Regions from separate parts of the Homo sapiens genome. Here region 2 is linked to region 1. Evidence: promoter capture Hi-C in human tissues and cell types (Jung and others, 2019). All regions are on one chromosome and are shown on one strand. The core of a region is centred on a gene start or on the middle of the fragment in contact, and the rest is flanking DNA. Distances in the headings are between cores, read along the strand shown.

Region 1 (7,187 bases), core at 1,661-4,160:
AGTACAGGGGTTGGTTCGTAAGTGATGCTCAGTAAGTGTTTGTTAAAACAACAGAAAGGATTTAAAGGGGTGGAATACAAGATTCCATAGTGGTAACCTGGAGCTACAGAATTTGATTTTAGAATAAGGCTGGTATAGAAAAAAGAATCTAAAAATATCTAATAAGTATACCAAAATTAGCATTAAAAAAAAGTCACCAAATTACGTGGGAATAATGAACCTGACAATCTCATTCTCACTGAAACCAAGAAACTGGCTACGGAAACTTGGTAATTAGGAACAAGGTTTACACTGAAGAGCTGCAGTGACCCCTGGATGACTTTGGAATACCTAGTCACATAGAGTGGCAGCTCCCTTCTGTTTTGTATAAATGGCAGTAAAGGTAACTATGTATTCAGGAGACATTTTGAATATCTAAAGATACATGGTAGCAAACATAATCTGGACTATGCCTAGCCTAGCCTAGCCTAGCCTATCACTAACGGTATACTCAAGGACCACTGCAGCGGAGGCCAGAGGAAAAAGAAACAAAAGCCAGAAGAGTAGTCAGCTGGTGATGTACTTTCAAGATAAAAATGCACGCATATTACTTTGTGGTTCCACATTCAGATGTATCAGTGAGCTGGGCATGGTGGCTCATGCCTGTAATCCCAGCACTTTGAAATGCTGAGGCAGGAGGATCACTTGAGCCCAGGAGTTTGACACAAGCCTGAGCAATATAACCAGACCACATCTCTACAAAAAATAAAAAGATTAGCCAGGCATGGTGGCGTATCCCTGTAGTCCCAGCTACTTGGAAGGCTGAGGCGGGAGGATCACTTGAGCCCTGAAGTTCGAGGCTATAGAGAGCTAAGATCGCACCACTGCACTCCACGCTCGGCGACAGAGTGAGACCCTGTCTCAAAAGAAGAAGAGTAATAGAAGTATCAGTGAAATCAAGCATTCAAAACATATACATTTTTGGAACTCAATATGTAAAGTCAATAAGTGGCTTTTAGGGTAGTGGTTTATCAGTTCATTCATTTATTCAACAAATATTTCTCAGGTGCCTATTATATAATGGCCCTACAGGTTACAGAATACAAATATAATCAATTTTTCTCCTGGAGAGGGGAAAGAGACATACACAGGTGATTACAAAACAAGATGACAAATAATATAAAAGAAATATGCACAGAATTATGAAAGCAGATAACATGAGTTCCCTAGAGCAAGTGATAAGTGCATCTGAAAATAAAAGTAATACTATTGGTGGGCCACGGGCAAAGGACACTCTAGGTAAGAAACAGCACGCATGTAGGAATGGACAGCTTAAAACATTTTGGAAAAGGCAGGTAGCTCAGCGTGGTCGCAGATTAGCATGGCAGGCTGGCAAAAGGTAAGCAAAATGCTAGCTCACAAAGGGAACTGTGTACTGCTAAGAGTTTCGATTTTTAGCCTGTAACCAACGAAGTATAGTTAAAATGTTTTTAAGAATAATGACAGGATCAGATCTGTGCTATGGACAGATTATTTTGGCAGCCCTGTGGAAGCGGGAACGAAACTTGGGGCCTAAGAAATACAGCGTGTGTCTGTGAGTCTCAATTTTCCAGTATAGGAACCACTTTAACAAAACAAAATATCCTATGAAACACTTCATTCAGTTCTCCAGCTCACCACCTTAAACATCATGACTTGAAACTAAAATGAGTGGTAGTTTCCTCTCCTCAACAAACACACATACAATGCTTCACATCAACAAGATAATGTGGAGCTTCTATTAAAATATTCCATTCCTTCCATTAAATTATTAAATACCACTAGCTATAGATATTACCAGACATTCATTTAAAACTCATAAGTACTGTAGCCCAGATTACCTGGAGAATCTTGTCAACTGCCCACGGTCCCTCTATCCTACTTCGATAGCCACTGACATCTCACTGGTAACCGAGACGTAAGTGAAAGTACATCTAATCAGCGAAACTGACAAAGTCAGCCTTGGAAAAACAGTAAATGGAGATGTCGTTCACGAAACGAACAGATACAGAAAGACGAGGCAGTGTCCCTAACGGAGCAGAGCTGTCAACGAGTCTATGTAGTTAGGAGCCCAGGAATGGCCAGTCTTGTAAGAAACGGCCGGTAGACGGAGCGCCTGTGACAACTAGTTGTAGTAGTTTGCGGGCAAGGGAGAAAAAGGACCGAGGTAAAAGAGGGTGTAGGGCACGCTGGGGGTGGATCTACCCGCAGCAAACAGGAGACAATGAGAGAGATCCAGACACAATTCAGAGCGGAGGAGCGGTAGGAGGGTGTGGAGCTGGGAGCGAAGACCCGACTCCCGGGCTGGTGGCGGGAAGTTAGCGGATAAGGAAGAGGCACCCGAAGGATGACTAGAGTTTGGAGCGGCAGTGGAAGCCCAGGGACGTGGGAGGCCGAGGAAACAGCAGATCTCGAGGCGGGGTGCGGGATGCACACCCCGGGGACGCGGAGGGACAGGGAGAGCGAAGGTGTCACCCTTGACTTGCCGGGGCAGCCCTCCCGCACCCAGCCCGGTACTCACAGAGCTCAGAGTACCGATGGCAGCCCCGGCCCAGCTGCTGCAGATAGCGCTGCAGCACGTCCGTGAGGAGGTGGCAGGCGCTGAGCTGCACCGAGTCCCAGCCCAGCGCCTGGCAGATCTGCGCCACCGAGACCCTCAACAACGACCTGGAGTAACTCTCGCACATCCCGCTGCGTGGACGCCACCGCAGCCCTTGCTGCCACTGCTCTCCAGCCCCGCCGCCAGACCTTAGCAGGGTCCCCGATTCATCCTCTAGGGCTTCCGCGGCGGGGAAAGGGTCCCCCGGACCCCCGGCGACCACCTCAAAGCCCCAGCAGCACGGAGCGCGCCAGCCTGAGAGCCGCCATTTTGGACTCGCTCCGCCTCCCGCTGGACGGCCGCCGGGGCGAGGCAGCATAAGCCGAATGCCGAGCGCGGCGATGAGAAAGCTCCGCCCCTTGGGAGCGGAACGATTCCTCGGGATCGCCTCTGAGGCCTGGAAGCCGGCCGGAAGCGGGCGTGGGGCGCGCAGGTGGAGGAGGCGCCCAGGGCGGCAGGTGCTGGGGCGCTCACCTGGGGGACAGCGGTGACGAAAACGCCAGTGTTTTAGAGGCAAACGAGGGATCTGGGATACGACATTGACAGGTTAGAGAGTTAGCACTAATAACGTTAGTCATATTAGAGAGTTATGTGCTAGAGAGAAGTTTGGGGCGTGGGAACTTACGGAGCTCGCCAAACGCAGACCTGCGCTGGTGTTGCCTCAGCTAAAAATCTGTGTATTGAGCTGCTTGCCACTGCAAAGATTAAATAAAGTCCAAGCTGTTCCGCATGCCCTTCAAAGCCCTTCGCAATAGGGCAGGAACTAGGAGGACTCTGTGCCAAATTAATGGGGGCCTCAAAAAACTCAGTCATCAAGATCGATAATATTTTAACAGTTTTTTTAAAAAAATCCAAATCCATGCCATAAACTCCTGACTCACTCATGTCATTCTAATCCCAGCCCTGGTTCCAATAAAACTTTTTTTTTTTTTTTTTTTTTAAAAAAAACAGGTAAGCTGCCTGTGGGCTATAGTGTGCGATTTGAGCATCGCGGCTGTGACCTATCGGGGGATGGGGACCTCGGCTGCCTACAGAGGCCAAACCGAGCCTTAAACCGGTGTCGCAGGCCGAGTGTCCTGGGAACGGTTGCCTACCCCAGAGCCTTCTCCCAGCTCCATCCAAGTATTGCCAGAAATCGGATTTAGGGATAAATATCTTGATTTTTAAATACAGAATTGGGAACACATCTCAAAAGCCAAACTGATCCCACGGTTAGTCTAGATTCAGCCTGCAGGTCGCCCGATTGTAGTGGCTGAACTATGCGGTTTCTTAAATATGCCCTTCTGTACTTATCACAGTGTATTTAGTTTATGTGCTCCTCCAATAAATTGCGAGTTTATGAGTGGCTCTATATTCCTCCGACAGGGACTATTCCAGAACTTTGAACATGATATTCACATTTTTCAAAGTCTGGGAAACTCAATAATAGAACTGAAATTATGGTTCTTCAGCTAAATGACGATCTGCAGAGAAGCAAGGTACTAAAGGGCAAGGTGCCTGCATTTACTCCCTGGACACTCTGTCCCCAAGTTATCAGGAACATTGTGTTGCTAAATCTATGAGACATTTTTCAGTCCTAGCCGTACTTGATTATTTTGTAGCTATTTGATAATGTTGAACGCTTCTGTAACATTGAAACTCTCTTGCGCCTTGGATTTCACAAATCTGTCCCGCTACCGCCGCCACCCTGGGTGTTTGTTCCTCTTCATTTGCCTTTCTGTGTATAGGGGAGGGGATTTTATTTCGGAAAATTTCAAACCTACAGAAAAGTTGAAACAAAATCATAGACTCACGTGTACACTTCAACTAGATTCACCAATTGTTAACATTTTGCCAATTTACTATATATTTTGTATTTATATATGCACGCAGGTATTTTTTTTCCAGCAGTTTGAAAATAAGCTGCAAACTTCATGACACTTAACCCCACCACACCTCGACATGTATCACCCCAAAACAAGAACATTCCCCCACATAACTATACACAAGACCATATGTCACAGGCTTGGTTCCCCAGGAAGTCAACTCTGAAATAGAGATGAGCCTGCAGAAAGTTCATTGAGGGATCCTCCTGGGACTTGGGGGAAGGAGTGAAAGCCAGGGTGCAGTGAATTCCTTGGCAAGAAAGCCTCAGCCAAGCCAATGCCATAGTGTGCAGAAGCTGGAGTGGCCCTTCAGAGCTTCCCTGAATCCAAACAAGAAGACTGGACCTTTATATTCCCATAGGAACAGGTCACTGCATGAGGGCTACCTGGGAAAGGGTGTGTGCTCTCAGGCAAAGGAACACTGCAGCTGAGTCCATTCAATTCCAAGGACAGCTGAAGTCCTTCAGTCCTGAGGGGGCTCTGAGCAGTGGATTAGAGCATTCATCACAGTTCATCTATTTTACCCTCAGAGACACTTCTTGGTTTGAGGAACAGCTCCTCCAGGATTCTGGAGGGGGCCCTTTCCCTGGGGAAAACATTAAAGAGGAAGGTCAGGAGACAAATTAGAGCCCCGACTGCTGCAGCCAGGCCTCAGCTGATACTCAGTATTCTCCTCCTCAGGCCTACATTTCTCTCACTTCTGGTCTCAGTAGCTTATTTGGTGGCATGATGCAGACCCTCATGTGCAGGTCTGAGCCCCTGGTTTCCAGGCCCTTTTCAGACTGTGGCTGCTGAACTCGTCCTTGTACCATCAGAACTGGGGAAGAGAATACCCAAAATTGGGCAAGAGGCACCCAAACAGACCATGTGGAAACCAAACACTCCACCTTGCCTCCCACTCTGTAATAGGAGCCCATCCCCCTCCTAAAGATGACTCCTCTCTTAGCTGCAGTCTCAGTGGAAGTGCCCAGGCAGCAACTGTAGCTAATGTTTCAGTGGGACTCCTGCTAGGTCCTCTGGTGAAAGCATTCCCCCTTTTGGAAATGGGATCTGTAAACCTGGAGAACCCAGAGTGGCAGGACAGGAAGAACAATTTCCCAGGTGGGTCCCTGGGAGTGATGTAAGTGGAGAAACCCCAGTCTCCACCCTGTGTCATCTACTTATTGGGAACCCAGCATCACAGAAGTCATTGACTTGGTGGGGCACAGTGGCTCATGCCTTTAATCTCAATACTTTGAGAGGCCAAGGCAGGTAGATGGCTTGAGGCCAGGAGTTCAAGACAAGCCCTAGCAGCATAGTGAAACCCCCATCTCTACAAAAAAAAAAAAAAAAAAAAAAAAAAAAAATATATATATATATATATATATATATATATATATATAAAGAAATTAGCCCCAGCTACTCAGGAGGCAGAGGCCAGAAGATAACTTGAGCCCAGGAGTTTGAGGCTACGGCGAGCTATGATCGAGTCACTGCACTCCAGCCTGGGCAACAGTGAGACCCTGTCTCTACAAAAAGAAAAAAGGTTGTTGGCTTAAAGAGTGCACAGCAGCCTAGGGGATCAGGCCCATCCTCAGAAGGTATTGCCTGTGTGCTGGTGCTTTCATTGTGCCTAAAAAAGTCTATTCCATTGCTCTGCCAGGCTGACAGCTTCTGAGTGGTGTGGTGTATGATATGACCCGTGGGTTTCATAGCCTTGTGCCCACTCCCACGTTTCCTTTATTGTAAAATGGGCCCCTTAGGCTGACATAGCGTGATATGGGAACCCAGTGGCTCAAACAAGATGAGCAGGAAAGGCAAATCCATACCCAGAGTATATATCTATTTCTTATCACAATGAATGTTTACCCTCGTTATCACATGGCTGACTAGGAATTGTGGCTCACAGCCTGTGTCCGGCATCATGAGAGAGCATGGTACCACATATTGCTAGCCTGAGAAAAGATCAAAATTCAAAGTGTGGTTTCTACTGAATGCATATTCCATTTGTACCATCGCAAAGTTGAAAATCATAAATTAAACCATCGTTAAGTTGGGGACCGTCTGTGTATGATGACACAGGGTGAGAGAATTAACATAGCTCTAGGACAAGACCAAAATGTATACTGTTGCCTGTTCCAACTGAATAGAAACTATTTCTGATCCTTTCTGTTTGGGATGGAAAAGACAACTTTCACCAGCCAATGACCGCATGCCATATGCTTGAGACAATGTCTATCTGTTCTAGCAAAGACACCACATCTGGCACAGCAACTGCAACCAGGGTTACTACTTGGCTAAGTTTACAACAGTTCACTCTCACCCTTCAAGATGCATCTCATATTTGCAGGAGCCAGACTGTCAGATGAAATGAAAATATAGTGACCCACAGCCTCAGCATCCTTTAGGTCATGATTTCTGCCCACCCCGCCCCAGCTGCAGGGGCAGTTTCAAAGTCATCTCCTCAACCCTCCCATGCCCAAAGTTCTTACCTATGGGCCAAAGAACCAGCGTAGGGGTTGTGCCAACATCCCAGTATGTCTGTTCCAGTGACACATTCAGGAATCAGGGAATTGGCCACTGAGTAGGTCTAAGTGTGAGCTGAGCCTGGGCCAAGACTCCAGGTGCCACTTGGCCTCAGATGCCCCCACTCTGACAAGGGACTCGTGATGACTCCGCATCTCCTGGTTTCATTCTCAGCTTCCTCAAAATGTGTGGGTTTCCCT
Region 2 (7,828 bases), core at 3,998-6,497, 140 kb before region 1:
TTCCATAAATATCGATGATAATACCTGCTGGACCTATGTCACAGGTGTGTTAGGAGGAGAAAACAAGGTGTATGGATCTGCTTTAAAACCTGACAACTACTATATAGAAATTGCATAATAATAAATAAAATGATTTTTTAAATGGAAATAAGAGTTGGATTTCTGTGTCTTGTTAACTTGTCAATGTTCAGTTATTGATATCAGAATTCCCATTTCACTTTTTTATATTTTAGGATAGCCAAAGAGAACAAAGAACAAATCAAGGTAGGCGAAAAATGGGAGTTGCCATTACTGCTGTCAAATACACTCAGTTTTCTAGGTAAGTTTGAAGTTAAAAATACTCCGAATTTATTGGTAATATATCTGCTGCAGGTCAAATACATCAAATTTTATCATATGAACAAAACTACTGGGTATTATTTTGTGGCCAAGCTCAAAGAAGATAACTTTTAGAGGGCAGGGAAAGGATCATCAGGAGCTCTGGGGTGGCACTATGAAGAGATACTTTTTCGGAAAGTTTATGAGAAATTTTCAAATAACCCAGCCGGCTGCTGTAATCCAAGAAACCACAGACTGAAAAGCAAAGCTGGGTAAGCAGAGGTCACAGCCTGAGGACTGAGGCCCCAATGCCTACAAAACTGCGGGGTTTCTATCAGTTTGTCGGGCTGTATGCTATGAAATGAAGTCTGACTTACTGAGATGGTCAAACATTTCTGCCATGTGGGATTACTTTCTGCCCACTCACCAGGCTGCCAGATCAGCCTAGATACTCAGAAATGTGCCCTTATCTTATTAAAGCAGAAAACGGAAGGAATAAAAGATGCTACGGAAAGTTCTGTAGACAGGCATAATCCTAAACACATGCCAAAATGGCGCACCAAAAAGAAAACCAAGGCAGTGGTCCTTCCACGGGCCTTGCTGTCCTCTTAAAATAGTGCCGTGGTTTTGCATGCTTTTAGAAACATGGATGCTGCCTTTCTCAATATATGGGTGCAAAATATAATGCAGTACACTTGATAATTCACATAAATATTATTCACAATTTAAGAACCCAGATTTGTTTTTTTTAAGCTGCCAGAGATCACTATAGCTAATAGAGAGTTTATAGTCTGTGATTAGATGCCTCTTAGGCTATGAATTTTTAACATCTGCTAGTGTGTTGAGGGCTTGATTACAGGTTTATGGGTTTTAGAATTAAAATCAAATTTTGTAACCTCATTATAAACATATTTCCACTTAAGTGATGGGTGATTTACACCCAGAATACAGATATAATTGTGGGCTTTGTTTACCTGTGTTTCTCACTAGGACTCTGTTCAGATAGGGCCAAAAATGAGAAACTGCTTACTTTTTCATGCTTGTGTTTCTCCTTCTCTTTTTCTCTCTTCTCTCGCTCTCTCTTCTCTTTCTCTCTTTCCTTCTCCTTCTTCTCCTTCTCTTTTTCCTTCTTTTTCTTCTTCTCCTTTTTGTCCTTTTTCTTTTCTTTCTCCTTCACCTTCTCTTTCTCCTCAAACAGTTTTTCCGGAAGCACTGGCAACAAAGATGGCAGCATGGCTGGGACCCTGGAGGCTGTGGCAGGGCTGAACAAGGGCAGGGCCAACTCTTTTGGGGGCAACACCAGTGGGGGTGCTGGGGCTTTCATCTTATCTTCTCTGCCTTTATCTTTCACTTTTTCTTTCTCTCTCTTATCTTTATCTTTCTTGCCTTTCTCTCTATCTTTCTTCTTATCTTTATGCTTCTCTTTCTCCTTCCTCACAAGTCCATCTTTCAATTTCACTTTGGGATCAACATCTTCAAATTCTTTGATTTTAAACTTGTAGGGATCTGCCTCTTCCTCTTTAAGAAATTCCTTCCAGGGATACTTTGTTTCCCTGCCAGTTTCCTTGTCTTTCTCTTTCTCTTTCACTTTATCCTTCTCCTTACTTTTGTCCTTGTTCTTGTCTTTTTCCCTCTCCCTATCTCTCTGCTTTTCTTTCTTTTTCATTTTAGTCTTTAGTTCCTTTTTCAACTTCTTCTTTACCTCCACGGAGGAAGGCAGCTTGGTTTTCTCCTCATACACCTTGTGGAGAGGTTCGGGAGTGGGAGGAGACACTGACGGAGAAGAGATATAAGGAAAGTTGGGGGGCATATTTGAAGGTGTTCCCAGTTTTGCTTTACGTACAACCTCATCAATGGAGGCATCCATTGTCCATGAGTTATCGGAACTTGAGGTTCCACCGGAAAGAGGCAGAGGAGTGGATCCTGACTTTGTGAAATTGTTCGCGGAAGTGGAAGCTTTGGGAGTAGTACACTCCGGGCCTGAAATTCTCTTAGGGCTAGTAAAAATGTCTCCTTCAGATTCCGATCCAGAAGAAAATTCGAAAGGATCTGGCTCTCGCTCAGCACAGGCTCGTGCAATCACAGCATCGATAGAGGCCTCAATCGTTTTATCTGCTACCACAGCCTTTTTCGGCTGATTCTCACTGTTCAGTTTCCCAGCATCAGGGGGTGTCTGTATTTGTTTTACCTGGATAGTCTCTTTACTGATTTTTTCACTGAGTGTAGCTGAAGGAGTCCTGTTGGGCGTTTCAGGTCTCACAGGTGTTTGGGGAATGTGAGTCGTGACCTTGGGGCTCTTGGGACTCTTGGGGCTCTTGGAACGTCCAGGTGATTTCTTTTCTTTGGATACAGTTTTTGGTGATCGAATAGGACTTCCGACCATTGCTGGTGACTGGGCGGTTTTAGGTGATTTAGTCTTCTGTCCTGGAGAGCTAGTTTTAGTCTTTGTTTTAGGTGTAAATGACTTTGTTTCTAATGGTTTTGCAGTTGGCATTTGTGATTTTGCAACTGGAGCCAACATTGGCGGCTCGGGTGAGGGAGGTGCCAAGTCTGTACTGTCCTGTACATGGACTGGAGAAAGCATTGGTGGGATCTTTTGAGTATTTATTGAGCTGAGTGGCTCTCGAGCTTCCAATAACACAACATCTAGCGTGTCCCCTTTAGTGCTTAATAGCCGAGGCCGCTTCATGGCTGGCAGTTCTTCAGCTTCAGGACTATCCAGTGGTCTCTTGCCCAGGAAATTCTCATCATTAATAATTTCTTCCTCCTCCAATTCATCATCTTCTTCCAAGGGAACCTGCATGGCTTCTGCTGATGTGCCTCCATCAGTGGGCACCTGCTCTTCTTCTTCTTCTGGTAAAGGAAGAAAAAGGAAGAAAAAAATAAATATTATTGGAATGTAACAAAACCTAAGAAATAAAAACAATGCTTCAAATATGATTTCTTTTTTCTTTCTTTTTTATTATTATACTTTAAGTTCTAGGGTACATGGGCACAACATGCAGGTTTGTTACACAGGTATACATGTGCCCTGTTAATTTGCTGCACCCATCAACTCATCATTTACATTAGGTATTTCTCCTAACGCTATCCCTCCCCCAGCCCCCGACCTCCCAACAGGTGCCGATGTGTGATGTTCCCCTCCCTCTGTGTCCATGTGTTCTCACTGTTCAACTCCCACTTATGAGTGAGAACATGCGGCGTTCAAACATGATTTCTAAAAAAAAAAGGAAATTATTGACAGTGTTTAAAAAGTAAGTTAGTTTTCAAGGATCTTCCAAACATGTGTGCCATCATTCTTAAAAGAGTGGCAGTCAGTAACAGCAGATGTACAAATTGATCATTGTCCTTTCACATGGTCTGGCCCTAACCTCAGGATCTGGAAATTGCTCGGTATTTCCAGTTGGCCTTCTGTTGTTTCCTGAATTAATTATTTTCCTAACCAGTAAATGCCATCTTTCTCTATCTCTCTCTCATGCACATAGAAGCACACGTGCGCACCCACACACCCTCTAAAAAATCAAGAGATGGATTATTATAGGACTTAGTATGGATTATTATTATTATCAGGAATGACAGGTATTTTTAGGACTTTTATGACAAATTCATATACTACTTATGTCTTCTATTTTGCTTGCTTGATGTGAGCCACTTGGAGAGGGAGTATGGTGCAATGAAATACACTTGGTTTAGGCACTTGACAAATGGTTTTTCGGCTAGAGTTACGGCACTAGAGAGCAACCAGCCTTAGGGACTCTCTCAACCTCTCTGAGCCTGTTTCCTAATCTTTCAAAAAGGAGCCGATGTTACTTGCCCTGCCTACTTGGCTGAGTTTTTCTAAGATCAGATTATTTCTCCCAACACATTTTAACTAAGCATATAATGTACAATGATAAAGTCTAAAAGAGCCACTGAAATAAATCAGAAATAAATCACAACTAAAAGAGCTCACAGTTTAGTGCAGCAATAACAGATATGTCTAGCCCACAGAAAGTGATCAGTGCCACAGACAGATAAAGTGCTACAGCAGGTCAAAGGAGAGACAGATCTCAGCGAGGTCAATCATGCGGAGGAGGCTTGATTAATTATGCAGCGTTTGGGATAGTTGGAGACTGGAAGTGGTGAAGTCCAGGACAAAGGGTCAGATGACAAATAGATGAAGGTGAAACACGGGGAGTGTAAGAGAAACAGAAAATTATTTGTCTGGAAAGTAGAGTGCAAGGTGGGGAGCAGTAGGAAGCAGGTTTAGTAAAATTGCATCCAGATCCTAGGACTTTTGAATTCCAGAAAAAGAAACATAATCTTTATTCTACTGGTAGTTTGGACCTAGAAGGATTTTAGACAACAGAGAAAAACGTGTGGGGTATGTGTTGGGAAAAGTCACACTGGCAGGAACACGCAGGATGGATGAGGGTGGGAGGTGATGGGTACTGAAGGAGAGCAATAACATGGATTACTGAAGTGATGTGAGAGGCAGTAAGGGTCAGAGCTAGAACAGTGGAAATGATCAGGAAGCAGCAGAGGTGAAGGATATTCTGAGGATAGAATGGATAGAATCTGATAAATGATTAGGGTATAAGACTTGAGCAAGGACTCAAACACAATTTCAAAGCTTTGAGCCTGGTCAGGCATGGTGGCTCATGCCTGTAATGCCAACATCTTGGGAGGCCGAGGGAGTAGGATTACCTGAGCCCAGGAGTTTGAAACCAGCCTGGGCAACATAGTGAGACCCCATCTTTACTAAAAAATACAAAAATTAGCTGGGTGTTGTGGTGCGTGCCTGTAGTCCCAGCTACCTGGGAGACTGAGGTGCAAGGGTCACCTGAGCCCAGAAGGTTGAGGCTGCAATGAGCCATGATTGCGCCACTGCACTCCAGCCTGGGCGACAGAGCGAGACCCTATTTTTAAAGAAAAAAAAAAGGGAAAGAAAGCTTTGAGCCTTGGTGAGTGATAAATGTAGTGATGAACAGAAACAGGAAATAAGGAAATAGAAAAGGACAATGATTATTAGCTCAATCCCTAGACACAGAGTTTGATGAACATTTAGTCTGCAATGCCTACTCGGCAGCTGAAATATAATACAGATGATCAGAAAACAGGACAGAGTGCATGAGAGAAAGAGTGTTGTTGAGATAACTAAAGTCACCATGATGGATGATATGAACAAGGAAGAAACAAGAGGAAACAGGTTCAGGTATTTTGAGGAATACCTATATATAAAAAGAAAAGGAAGAAGAACTAAAGAAATACATGGAGGGTCAGATGTCAAAGAGATCAAGGGAGCAAGAGTTTTATGCAGAAGGCAGGTGAACAAAGCCAAATGCTTAAGAGGTCAACGAGGATGAGGCCAACAGCAGAAGCCATGCTGCAAAAGCATGAAGGATGCACAGATGGAGAACGCGTGAGATGATGCATGGGGAAGTACTTAGTAAATCATAAAGAACATCACAACCTCATCAATTATGCTACCGATTCGCGATAATGATGGCATCACCCACCAGGTCCCAAGTCAGGAACCTGGGGTCATTCTAGATTCTCTCCCATCTTCTCCGCCAGATCTGAATTGACAGCACAAGTTTTCAACTCTGTTTGCTTTCATGTGCTTTCCCCCTGCTTCTGTCTTGTTAATATCAATATTCAGCACCTCTTCTCTGTATGGCTGCAAGGACCTTCTACCTAGTCTCGGCCTCCAGTGCAGCTTTCTCAGAACCATCTCTCACGTCGTCTTACGGTGATCTTCCGAACACGCAAATCTGAGCTTGTGGTTCCTCATCTTAAAAACCTTTCATTGCTTCCTTCAGAAGCAGTTTGTAAAAGGCATCCCTTGGAAATTGAGGGTTTGTAGAACCCCTTCTGAGGCTACTGCACAGTAGAAACGGCTGTTCTTTATTACACGGAAGAGTTATGCCTGGGGTTATCTATTTTACATGCAGAGCTTCCACAAAAGCTTTTGTTGTGAGGCTAAAACATGTTTGAAAATCACTATTCTAAAATACAAAAATCCTCTCCATCTGGGAAATTGGAGGAAAAAATAAAATATAAAAATCCAATTTCTCCAGTATGACTGACAAGGTGCTCCCTCTAAGCTAGGGAAGTAACCTCATCATTCACAGTGAGCCCCTGCGTGCTCTACCCATTCCAGCCATGCTAACTTATCTGCAATCCCCAAATATGTGGTCACACTCCTGTACCTCTGCACATGCGATTCCCCGTGCCTGAAATGTCTTTTCCTTCCTAACATGTTGGCGACTTCTAAGGCTCTCAAGTATTACCTATTCTGTAATGCCTTCTCTTAGCAACTAGAAATAACCACGTACTCCCTTTGGGGTCTACTGTGTTCCAGTTATACATGCAACAAAGAAAGCCTAGAATATTTACTATCCAGCTCTTTACAAAAAAACGTTTGCTGACCCCTGTCCTAGACCTACCACATTCAGCTCATCTAAACTTTTCCCTCCCTCCCTCGCTTTTGCTATCAGAATGACAAGGCGGACTTCAGATCTGCTCAACTGCCAACAGATAAACATGAGAAAATCAGAAAGAAGACAGCTTTAGGGTATTCTGAAAGTGAATGAACATTCACTTATTAATATTACATTTCTAAATTTCAAAGAACCTCCTCCTACTCCACAGAGGTTCATAAATCCCAATGATGCCAAAACAGAATGATAAAGGTTTGGCTTAGGCAGGATAACGGGTCTTTAGAGTATGTTATGGTGCATCCTGCTCTTCTAACTCTGGGGACTAATCTGGATATAGCTCAGCTCTAACAGTGTGTGTTCTCCAGGGAAGGCCTTATGGATACTGGGAGACCAGAGGGAAACTGCTCTACTCCAAGCATTCCCTAGAAAGGGACTACAGGGGATACCCAGGACTACTAGTAAGACAGTTTCAAGTCTTATGGATGTAAGGTCTGCTTTATAGTTACAATAACTTGAAAATTTGGATTTTTCTGTATAGTAAGATATATTATTTTACTAATGTGCAATTCTATCAGATTAGAACTGGCAAAATGGCTACAAGATAGGCCTTTGAATGAAGGAAGAATGTGAGGCTTGGCTAGGAAAACTGGGATGGTTTCATACAACTACTTTAGAAAATATATTGGTTTACTTTGAATTTAGAGCTCAAATAACTCATAACGGTATCAAAAATTAATGATGGTTGTTTGTGTTTCAGTAAAAAAAACTTAACATTAAGCTTGATTTAAAGTAAGACTCCACAAGCTAGGTTTATTCTGTTTTTGTTATTTTGTTTTTATTGTTTATTTTCACTTTTGTTTTTCAAGTTCCTACTGCAAAAATTTATATTCATTCCTTTATGTTACTTAATACTGCAAAAACTTGTATTCATTCCTTTATGTTATTTAAAGGAATAGAAATGAATTATAAAACTAAATCACTTCAAGTGTTGGTTTTAGGAATACTTAAAAATACAAACGTTTTAAAATAGATTTTTTTTAGAACAAACAAAGGTTTCTTATTTTTATTTGTTTAATTTACACTTTCTT

The links. The method cuts DNA at HindIII sites, captures the fragments that hold promoters and counts their contacts. A contact is called where the count stands out against the background at its distance.
Region 2: a contact is called between a fragment that was not itself captured here and the fragment with the promoter of TAF3 in region 1, in 1 of the 25 tissues and cell types used here (mesenchymal stem cells).

What each region holds. Positions count from the first base shown.
Region 1 is chr10:7,814,228-7,821,414 of GRCh38, reverse strand. TAF3 (TATA-box binding protein associated factor 3) reads right to left here and starts at 2,910. Exons shown (of 7, transcript NM_031923.4): 1 at 2,540-2,910. The coding sequence starts at 2,705. It overlaps LOC105376392 (a long non-coding RNA gene), which reads left to right and starts at 3,052. Exons shown (of 3, transcript XR_001747356.1): 1 at 3,052-3,163. RefSeq lists enhancers at 2,198-2,715, 2,844-2,903, 2,716-3,234. The HindIII fragment of the contact is 13,699 bases long and covers 1-7,187 here.
Region 2 is chr10:7,959,263-7,967,090 of GRCh38, reverse strand. It overlaps TAF3 (TATA-box binding protein associated factor 3), which reads right to left. Exons shown (of 7, transcript NM_031923.4): 3 at 1,349-3,171. Among named protein-coding and RNA genes, the nearest start is that of GATA3-AS1, 90 kb to the left of the region's middle. RefSeq lists silencers at 1-5, 4,937-5,101. The HindIII fragment of the contact is 3,290 bases long and covers 3,603-6,892 here.